Linked DNA regions of Homo sapiens: region 1 is linked to region 2. Evidence: promoter capture Hi-C in 16 types of primary human blood cells and fetal thymus (Javierre and others, 2016). All regions are on one chromosome and are shown on one strand. The core of a region is centred on a gene start or on the middle of the fragment in contact, and the rest is flanking DNA. Distances in the headings are between cores, read along the strand shown.

Region 1 (4,321 bases), core at 1,769-4,268, 260 kb after region 2:
ACAATTGAGAACAAAGAAATATGAGAACATATTTTGCCCAAATAAATTGGGGAAATGCTGCTGAAAATAGGTGGGAAAGACTTTACCAAGTAGAATATAGGAGGGAAGGGCATTTTTAGGCAGAGGAAACAGCACATGCAGAAGCTTGTAGCCATGAAATGGCAAACTTAGTGGGGCTAGAGGATGTTATGCATGGTGTGACCAGAGGGATGGGAGGTAAACCCAGAGCCAAATTGTCAAGGACTTTACATACTAAGTTAAATAGATCATACATTTTCCTTTGGATAGGAAGAGGTCTTTAATTGGAGGACTCAACATCAGAATTCCTTTTAGAAAAATAATTCGTGTAAGAATTACAGCTACCTTTTGGGAGGCTGTGGAAATAAACCAGATGAGAACTTGAATTCAAGGCTGGATTTACAGATTTTTTAGTAGTAGACTCAATAATTTTTCATGACTTTTCATGATTTTATTGGGCAAGAGAGAGAAAGTGGAGGAATTATCTAGAGTAGTTTCAAGGTTCATAACTGGGAGATAAGTTGGATACTGATTTTTATAAACCTGAATATGAGATACAAGAATGTCAAACGGGTTTGGAGGGAAGACAGAAAATAAATACTCTTAGACATGTTGAATTTGATATACTTGAATCAGTCAGATAGTTACCCAGTGGGCAATTGAATAGTCAGTGTTGAAGACCTTGATTTAATAATCTTCATCCATGTGGTATTTGAAACAACAGGAGTAAGATTGTCCAGAGAAAATACTGTGAGATTATGAAAGAACTGAGGTTAGACCTGATCAGCACTGACATTTTTGTAACGATCAGAGGAGGAGGAAGAGCCATGAAGAAGGATTGAGTAAGAAGAGTTAGGAGGAGGAGAAATAGAACAAAGTGGGAACTAAGGAAAATTCATCAAATAGCCGATGGTTGGCAGTATTAGAAATTAGAGAGCTCCAATAGTATGGAAACTCAAATTTCCCATTTTTTTTGGTAACTAATAATTAATTTTTTTTTTTTTTTTTGAGACAGCGTCTCACTCTGTTGCCCAGGCTGGAGTGCAGTGGCGCAATCACGGCTCACTGCAGCCTTGACCCCCCCCTGGCTCAGGTGATCTCCCACCTCAGCCTCCAGAATTGCTGGGACTACAGGCGCGGGCCACCACACACAGCTAATTTTTCTATACCTATTCTTGGTAGAGATGGGGTTTCCATATTGGCCAGGCTGGTATTGAACTCCTGACCTTGTGATTCGCCTGCCTCAGCTTCCCAATGTGCTGGGATTATAGGCGTGAGCCACCGCGCCTGGCCCAAAATTACTCTTTTAAGAAGTAAGCTGGCTGGGCACAGTGGTTCATGCCTGTAATCCCAGCACTTTGGGAGGCTGAGGTGGGCAGATCACCCGAGGTCGGGAGTTTGAGACCAGCCTGACCAACATGGAGAAAACCCATCTCTACTAAAAATACAAAAAATTAGCCGGGTGTGGTGGCACATGCCTGTAATCCCAGCTACTCGGGAGGGTGAGGCAGGAGAATTGCTACGGGAGGAGAGAGTTTTTTAGGATACAGAATTTAGCTTGTTTGTAGCATGCAGAGATGGAACCAGAGGAGAGAAGCTGAGGTTGAAGAAAGGTGATAATTGAAATTGGACTTTTAGAGGAAGGAGATGCTTTCCAGTACATTTCTGAAGGTTATGCTTGCAGAAGAAGTAGGCTCTTTCTGGAATAGGAGGGGAGAGAACCATCATCAGTGGACTAAAAGGTAGAAAGAAAATAAGTTGACAAAGGTTGTCACTGATGACATGTAGTTTTCCTCTCAAATGTGAGGTTATTTTGCAAGAGTGAGACAAGTAGTTTCGGGCTGGCAACTCTGCTGAGATGAAGTTTTTCTGAAATTCACTGTAGGCTTGGCGTGGTGGCTCACATCTTAATCCCAGCACTTTGGGAGGCCAAGGTGGGCAGATCACCTGAGGTCAGGACTTTAAGACCAGCCTGGTCAACATGGTAAAACCCTGTCTTTACTGAAAAATACAAAAATTAGCCCGACATGGTGGTGGGTGCCTGTGATCCCAGCTACTTGGGAGGCTGAGGCAGGAGAATCGCTTGAGTGGGGGAGGCAGAGTTTGCAGTGAGCCGAGATTGTGCCATTGCACTCCAGCCTGGGCAACAGCAAGACTCCGTCTCAAAAAGAAAGAAAAAAAGAACTTCATTGTGCTCCCAAAGCCTACATCATTGTGCTTTGTTTGTGACTTCCCTTCAAAGATTGGGTGAGGGAAAAGAACTTTGTGTCCCTAAAGCCAAGAAAGGCTATTTTAATGAGCCTTTAATGTTCATTCATCAAATATTTATTGATGTATTATGGAAGGCACTATGATGGTCATTTGGGGTTTTTAAGAAGGTCATTGCTGGCCGGGCGTGGTGGCTTACGCCTGTAATCCCAGCACTTTGGGAGGCCAGGGCGGATCACTTGAGGTCAGGAGTTCGAGACCAGCCTGGCCAACATGGCGAAACCCCGTCTCTACTAAAAATATAAAAATTAGCCAGGCATGGTAGTGCACGTGCCTGTAACCCCAGCTCCTTGGAAGGCTGAGACAGGAGAATTGCTTGAACCTGGGAGGTGGAGGTTGTGATGAGCCGAGATTGCCCCATTGCACTCTAGCCTGGGCGATAAGAGCAAAACTCCATCTGAAGAAAAGTAAATAAAAAATAAAAAGGTCATTCCTTTCAAATAGCTCAGACTAGAAAGGAAGATAGGAAGACACCTCTATAAACAAATACACCGTGGGCCGGGTGCCGTGACTCACGCCTGTAATCCCAACTCTTTGGGTGGCCCAGGTGAGTGGATCACCTGAGGTTGGGAGTTCGAGACAAGCCTGACCAACATGGAGAAACCCTGTCTCTACTAAAAATACAAAATTAGCCGGGCGTGGTGGCGCATGCCTGTAATCCCAGCTACTCGGGAGGCTGAGGCAGGAGAATCGCTTGAACCCGGGAGGTGGAGGTTACTGTGAGCTGAGATTGCGCCACTGCACTCCAGCGACAGTGTGAGACTACATCTCAAAACAAACAAACAAAAAACAAATACATTGTGTAAGAGTAATCAAAGAGATCACTTCTGGTAGATGATGATGTAGAAGGATCAGACATTTCAAAATAAGGAGCATTGCAACTGGGCATGCTGGTGCCCACCTGCGGTTCCAGCTACTTGGGAGGCTGAGGTTGGAGGATCAGTTGAGCCCAGGAGTTCAGGGCTGCAGTGAGCTGTGGTCGCAGCACAGCACTCCAGCCTGGGTGATAGAGCAAAACTCTCTTAAAAGAAAAATAGCATTTGAATTTTTTCCCTTTAAAAGAAAAAAATCTTTTTTTTTTTGAGACAGAGTCTCACTCTCTGTTGCCCAGGCTGGAGTGCAGTGGCTCCATCTCGGCTCACTGCAAACTCTGCCTTTCGGGTTCAAGCAATTATTCTACCTCAGCCTCCCGAGTCGCTGGAATTACAGGAGCGTGCCACCGTGCCTGGCTAATTTTTGTATTTTTAGTAGAGATGGGGTCTCACCATGTTGGCCAAGCTACTCTGGAACTCCTGACCTCAAATGATCCACCTGCCTCACCCTCCCAGAGTGCTGGGATTACAGGCATGAGCCACTGTGCCTGACCAAAAGAAAAAATCTTTTATTTAAAGATTTCAATAAGTAGTGCACATTCATTATGTACGAAGTACAAAAAAGGCAAAACATTACCTATAATTTCACAGACCAGAGCTAACTACTGTTATATTGTGGTATATATCCTTGCAATATTTTGAAGACTTAAAAAATATATGTGTATATTTATGTATACCATGTATCTGCAGTATATATTTGTGTGTGTGTGTGTTTTTTTTTTTTTTCCAGACAGTGTCTTACTCTGTCACCAAGGCTGGAGTGCAGTGGCATGATCTTGGCTTACTGCAACCTCTGCCTCCCAGATTCAAGCCATTCTCCTGCCTCAGCCTCCCAAGTAGCTGGGATTACAGGCGTGTGCCACCACCCCTGGTTAATTTTTATATTTTTTGTAGAGATGGGGTTTCGCCATTTTGGCCAGGCTGGTCTTGAACTCCTGGCCTCAAGTCATCTGCCCTCCTTGGCCTCCCAAAGTGCTGGGATTACAGGCATGAGCCACCGTACCCAGCTGTACAGTTCTTTACCTAGCATTTCTTGTGATGTAAATATGAAAAAATGCTATGTAAAGAAATCAGTAAAATTTGAAAACTTAATTTTTAATTCCACACTATCATCTATTTAATTTTTCCTTCCCACATTTTTTTTTTCTAGGTTAATAATAAAA
Region 2 (4,754 bases), core at 1,363-3,862:
AAGAAATGATCGGACTGATCTAGCTCAGAGTGCTATGATTTCAGGACTACAGTCCCAAGGTTATCAGGCTCCCTTAGCATTTGGGGGTCTTGTAAGGCATGGAGTAAAAAAAAAAAAGCAATATCCTAAGGCTGGAGAAGAGGGAGGGGACAAAGGAAGGGGAGGAAAGGGGAGGTAGCAGGGAGCCAAGGACCAAGAAGGACTGAGGTACAGTCATTCTGCATCCAAAGGCTTAAATTGTAAGGGACTGGCTTTACTCTGGCTGTTTCCGGAAAGGCAGGCCCAGCCAGCCCTCCCGTCTCTCTCTCTGACAGCCAATCTCACATGTGCCTCCCTGGGAGCACCTGCTCTGAGCTGTATCAGCCCCCAGCAGGCCGCTGATTACCACTGAGCCTGGCCACAGAGCACGAGATTAGGATGCAGCAACACACTGTGTGTGAGATCACGTCCCGAACCTTCTGACTCATCTGCACAGGAAACCCCCCCAGTCTCCCCTCCAGTCAGAAGGGACCTGAAATTCCACCAGTGGCAATACCAAAGAAACTTCCTATTAGCTAAGCCCCTAGGGAGTGATTGGCTGTTGGGGCGGGGAGGGGGGGCGGTGAGGAGGATGAGGATGAAGCCTGGGCAACCTGGATGTGAGGCTGTGCAGGGGATGAGGACAAGGATCCTTGGGGTGAAGGAAGAGAAGAGCAATTTTAGGTTTTGCTAATTTTGTAACCCTGGCTCCAAGCCAGCCCTTACAGGAAGTCACCCTGGCCTCCGGCTCAATTCAGCACGTGATAGGGAAGCCACATTTATGCAGAGCAGGGAACGAGGTAAGGAAATGGAAGTGGGGCTGTGGTGAAGTGGGCAAGTCTAGAGAGAGTCCCGCTGCCTGGGGCTGTTCCTAACAGCTGCTGGGAGCGAGCTGCAGGTGTGGTGCCTGGCAGGGTGGCCGGGCTGTCTGACTCTGGATTTCACTCCAAGCTAGGCTGCTGCCTGAAGGATTCCTCTTACCCACCTTTGCCTGGGCTGGCCTTTGGGACTTACATGGCTATGAGGCGTGCCACGGTGGTCTTGAACCGGTCAAAGATGTAGCCAGTGGGGAATGTCATGAAGTTGTTCATGAAGGACCCCAGGGTGAAGATGAGTGAGAACCTCTCATCCTGGGCTTTGCAGTCTGGAGTAGAAAAAAGGTCTCCCATGCATCCCAGCCTTCCTGCCAAATGAGCACACAGGCTGGGCTCCCCTCCACCTCAGACAGCTTGTCGGTCGCAAACTTGTCCCTTAAGCTGAGTTGAAATGTGGCTGCCCCTAATTACCCCTCAGGAGCTGGTGCCTCCCTCCCAGGCACTTCCCAGATCAAGTGGGGTGAGAGCTGCTGACCCTTCCTCTCATCATAGAAAGAGGGGTGGGCAGGGGGCAGAGTCCTTCCTGCTCCTTGCCACCACGTGGGAGCCAGACTTAACTTCCTTAGAAAAGTCATCCCTGCCCTTACCAGCCTGCCCTGTGGCATTGCCAATCGGCCCAGCATCTGGTCCACACAGATCCTTAAAGTAATCTTCATTCTTGAAGACAAACACTAGTGAAGGCCAGCCAAAGAGGACGCCAGCAAAGCCCAGGCATTCCAGCAGCCCAGTCAGCAGTGTGGCCACGTGCAGGGGCAGGCCCTGGCCCGCCATGAGCAGAAGTGGAGTGGATCTTCAAATCCCACTTTGTCCTCCTGGACGGATCACAGGCGCCGTAAGCCTGGCGTTTGAGCACTTGGAAAATTCCTCTGGCAAGCCAAGCCCTTCCTTTCCCGTAGCTCTCTGGTTGTTTCAGGCCTGGGCAAAAACCATCAGCGGGTGATTCTCTGGATCCTGTAGAATAAAGATAGAGGCTGCTGGAAGAGGAGGCCTGCGGGAAAGGGAAAGGTAGACTAGAGTTATTTGTGAGGTGCATTAAGAGGCAGGATGATCATGGCCGCTGGCAGCAAATGTGGGGAATAAATACTCCAATACATCATCTTAGGCACTGCATTTGAGTAACCACGTGGCAAGTAGAGAGGCAGGTCTTGATGGCCACCTGGAGTCACAGGTGAGATAAACGACTTACCCAATAGCTCCCCGGGAGCAGGTGGAGAAGCGGAGCTCCTGCGCTCGAATTCTGAATACCGTCCCCTAAAATAATGACAGCAACTCAACCAGGTGCAGAGGCAGGGAGATTTCATACAGAAGACACAAACTCCCGCTGCCAAGTTGGTGTTATCTTCAGTTTACTGACAATGAAACAAAAGCTCCCATGGATTTCAGGAACTTGCCCAAGGTCACAGGGCTAGTTTAGTCACGACGCAGGCCATTCTACTGCCAGAAATACCCCCAACTCCCATGACCCTCGCCTAGGACTCGCAAACCTGGTCCCCGCCGCCCTTCCTCGCATCAACTTCTACCAGGAAAGCCTCCGGGGGCCGCTCCCCGCCAGCCTCCGCACCCCGCTCCAGCCTGCGGCCTGCCCTCCCCGCAGAGGAGCCCGAGGGGCCAGGCCGCGCTCGGCGCCCCATGGCGCCCGAAAGGGGACCCTTCGCCCTACCCGCCTGCTCCGCGCCGGGGCTCTCCGCGCCCTTTCCGCACGGGCCAGGTTCGCATTCGCGCCTCTCGCAGCCCCTCCCAGTCCCCTGCTCGCCTCCGCCCCCTCCTGCCCGCCCGGAAGGGGCTGGGGCAGACCTCCCACTCTCCATCACTTCCTTCTTCTTTTCCCTTGCTCACAGCCTCCCGCGCCCTTTTTACCTCTCCCTCTTGAAACTTCTCCCTCTAGAACCCCCTAGAACCCCAGCGGTGTCTTTCCCTCCCTCCTCGCTGCCTTTCAGCCTCCCAGCCCCCTTGCCTCTGCCTCCCCTAACCAAGTTAGTTGAATGCTGTTACTCGCTCAGGCCCACCTAGGGAAAATGTCACACCCAGCACCCAGAGGACACACAGACAGCACATGAGGGCATAGGGACACACACACTCTATTTGTGCATTTTGCCTTGACCGCTGGGTTGGCAGGGAACATATTTTTCCTATTTGCTCACCAGCTTAACCGTCTCTCCCAGTTTCACACTCCCAGAGCTGCCAAAAAAATCCCAACCACAGAATCAGGAAGCCAAGAACCAGGACTGAGGGCTTTTCAGAAACCATCCCCTGGAGGACTGCCCCATATTTTCACTCCCAAAAACCCCTTAGATGACTCCCTGCCTCACCCCCGCCCCCCAGGTTCTGAAAGAGCCTTCCCGCCAGACTGCATTGATTAACCATTCATTGCCCCATTTTTTATTAATCAAAGACATATATAATTGCTCATCGGAGCTTGTGATCAGCGTGAGGCCTTACTAAGCAGCTGCCTTACTATCCTTCCAGCCCAGAGCACGTGAGCTGACGTCTTCTTTGGCCTGTGTGGCCGTTTCCTTGCCAAAAGCTCAGTTTGGGGAGAGCTTCTTGCGTATTAGATGCAGTCTGCAGACTCCCAACCCCAGCTACCTGGATCCCCTGAGGGCCCAGGAACTCCAGCTATTCCAAGCCCACTCCTCTTTTTTTTAAGAGGAAGAAATAGAGGTTACGATAGGGGACAGCCAGAACTGAGGATTTTCCAGCTCACCACCAAAGCACAAAAGATAAAAGTCTGCAACCACCCTAGTGACTTGACTGAATGGAGGAAGGGTGGCTGGGGTCCTGTACCCCAAGCTACTCACTAGTTATACAACCTGAGGCAAGCTCTTTGGCTGCCCCACCTGTAAGACGAGGACAATAGTACCTTAATTATAGGAATTGTCATAAAAGAAGTATAAGATGGGTGTATGAGGTCCCTGCATGGCGCAGGTGCTATAGGCAGATTGTAGGGTAGTAGATTTTCTAGTCTGCAGTTATGTAGACAGAGCCAGAGAAGCAGCTCTGGGGAGGAATTTCAAAGGAACTTGCCCACGGTCATTCTACAAAGCTGCAGTACCTTCCCAACTCTGAAACGTATGCTCTCATCACCCCGTCTTAACAAACATTTGGACATTAGAGAAAACAAGTCTTTTCTTAAAATAACATTATTTATGGGAGAAAATCCACAAAAATATAGCATCCCAGGACAAACAGGGCTTAAGATGCAAGATTTTCTATTTTACTGCAAGACACAAAGACTCTGAAATTAATGCATGCCCTATCTTCTGCTCTGGCATACATTTTAGTCTCCTGGGGGGATCAGTAAGTGTGGAAGTAGCAAGGGAGAAACAGAAAAAAGTCAAAGTAAAGAGACAGATTTTAGAATGTTAATCTGCAGGAGCCTGCCAGAAAGATCTAGCTCATGGGCTATCTGTACATCCAGGACTGAAGCACGGGACACGGGGCAGGTCGTCCAGGGTTCTGTCCACCTTATCTTGTTACCTCTCTTGACTCTTAGAGCCTCCACTCCACATCTCCCATCAATGTCTGCAGAAGACGTGGCCTCCACTAACACAAGTCTTACTGAACTGATGGGACAGGAAATTAGAATATCCTCTGAACCATTCCCATGTTCTTTGGTTCGAATTCCAGCAGCTAGAAAAGGCAGATGCTATTCTGATCACTCTCCTGCGTGGCTCCAATGAGGATTAATGAGTAACATCAGAGAGAGAAGTGATTATAATAAGGTCTGACGGTGCACCCGATGTCTTCATCCTTTTCTCTTCGCCTCCTTCCTCATCATCTCACACCTTTTTTTTTTTAATTGACTGATTGGTTCAACAAATACATGTGGTACCTCAGGCTCTGTGCCAAGTGCCGGGATTC

What was found. Contacts are between HindIII fragments. The CHiCAGO score rates a contact against its expected background, and 5 or more counts as called.
Region 1: a fragment that was not itself captured here is called in contact with the fragment with the promoter of SLC43A3 in region 2 in 4 of 17 cell types (monocytes, erythroblasts, activated CD4 T cells and 1 more); the score reaches 9.7 in monocytes.

What each region holds. Positions count from the first base shown.
Region 1 is chr11:57,682,964-57,687,284 of GRCh38, forward strand. The region is part of intron 3 of ZDHHC5 (zDHHC palmitoyltransferase 5); the gene reads left to right. Among named protein-coding and RNA genes, the nearest start is that of ZDHHC5, 17 kb to the left of the region's middle. The HindIII fragment of the contact is 5,752 bases long and covers 143-4,321 here.
Region 2 is chr11:57,424,509-57,429,262 of GRCh38, forward strand. It overlaps SLC43A3 (solute carrier family 43 member 3), which reads right to left and starts at 2,613. Exons shown (of 14, transcript NM_199329.3): 1 at 2,554-2,613; 2 at 2,080-2,144; 3 at 1,481-1,844; 4 at 1,033-1,162. The coding sequence starts at 1,664. RefSeq lists enhancers at 545-1,337, 1,030-2,229, 1,338-2,130 and a silencer at 2,373-2,732. The HindIII fragment of the contact is 9,438 bases long and covers 1-4,754 here.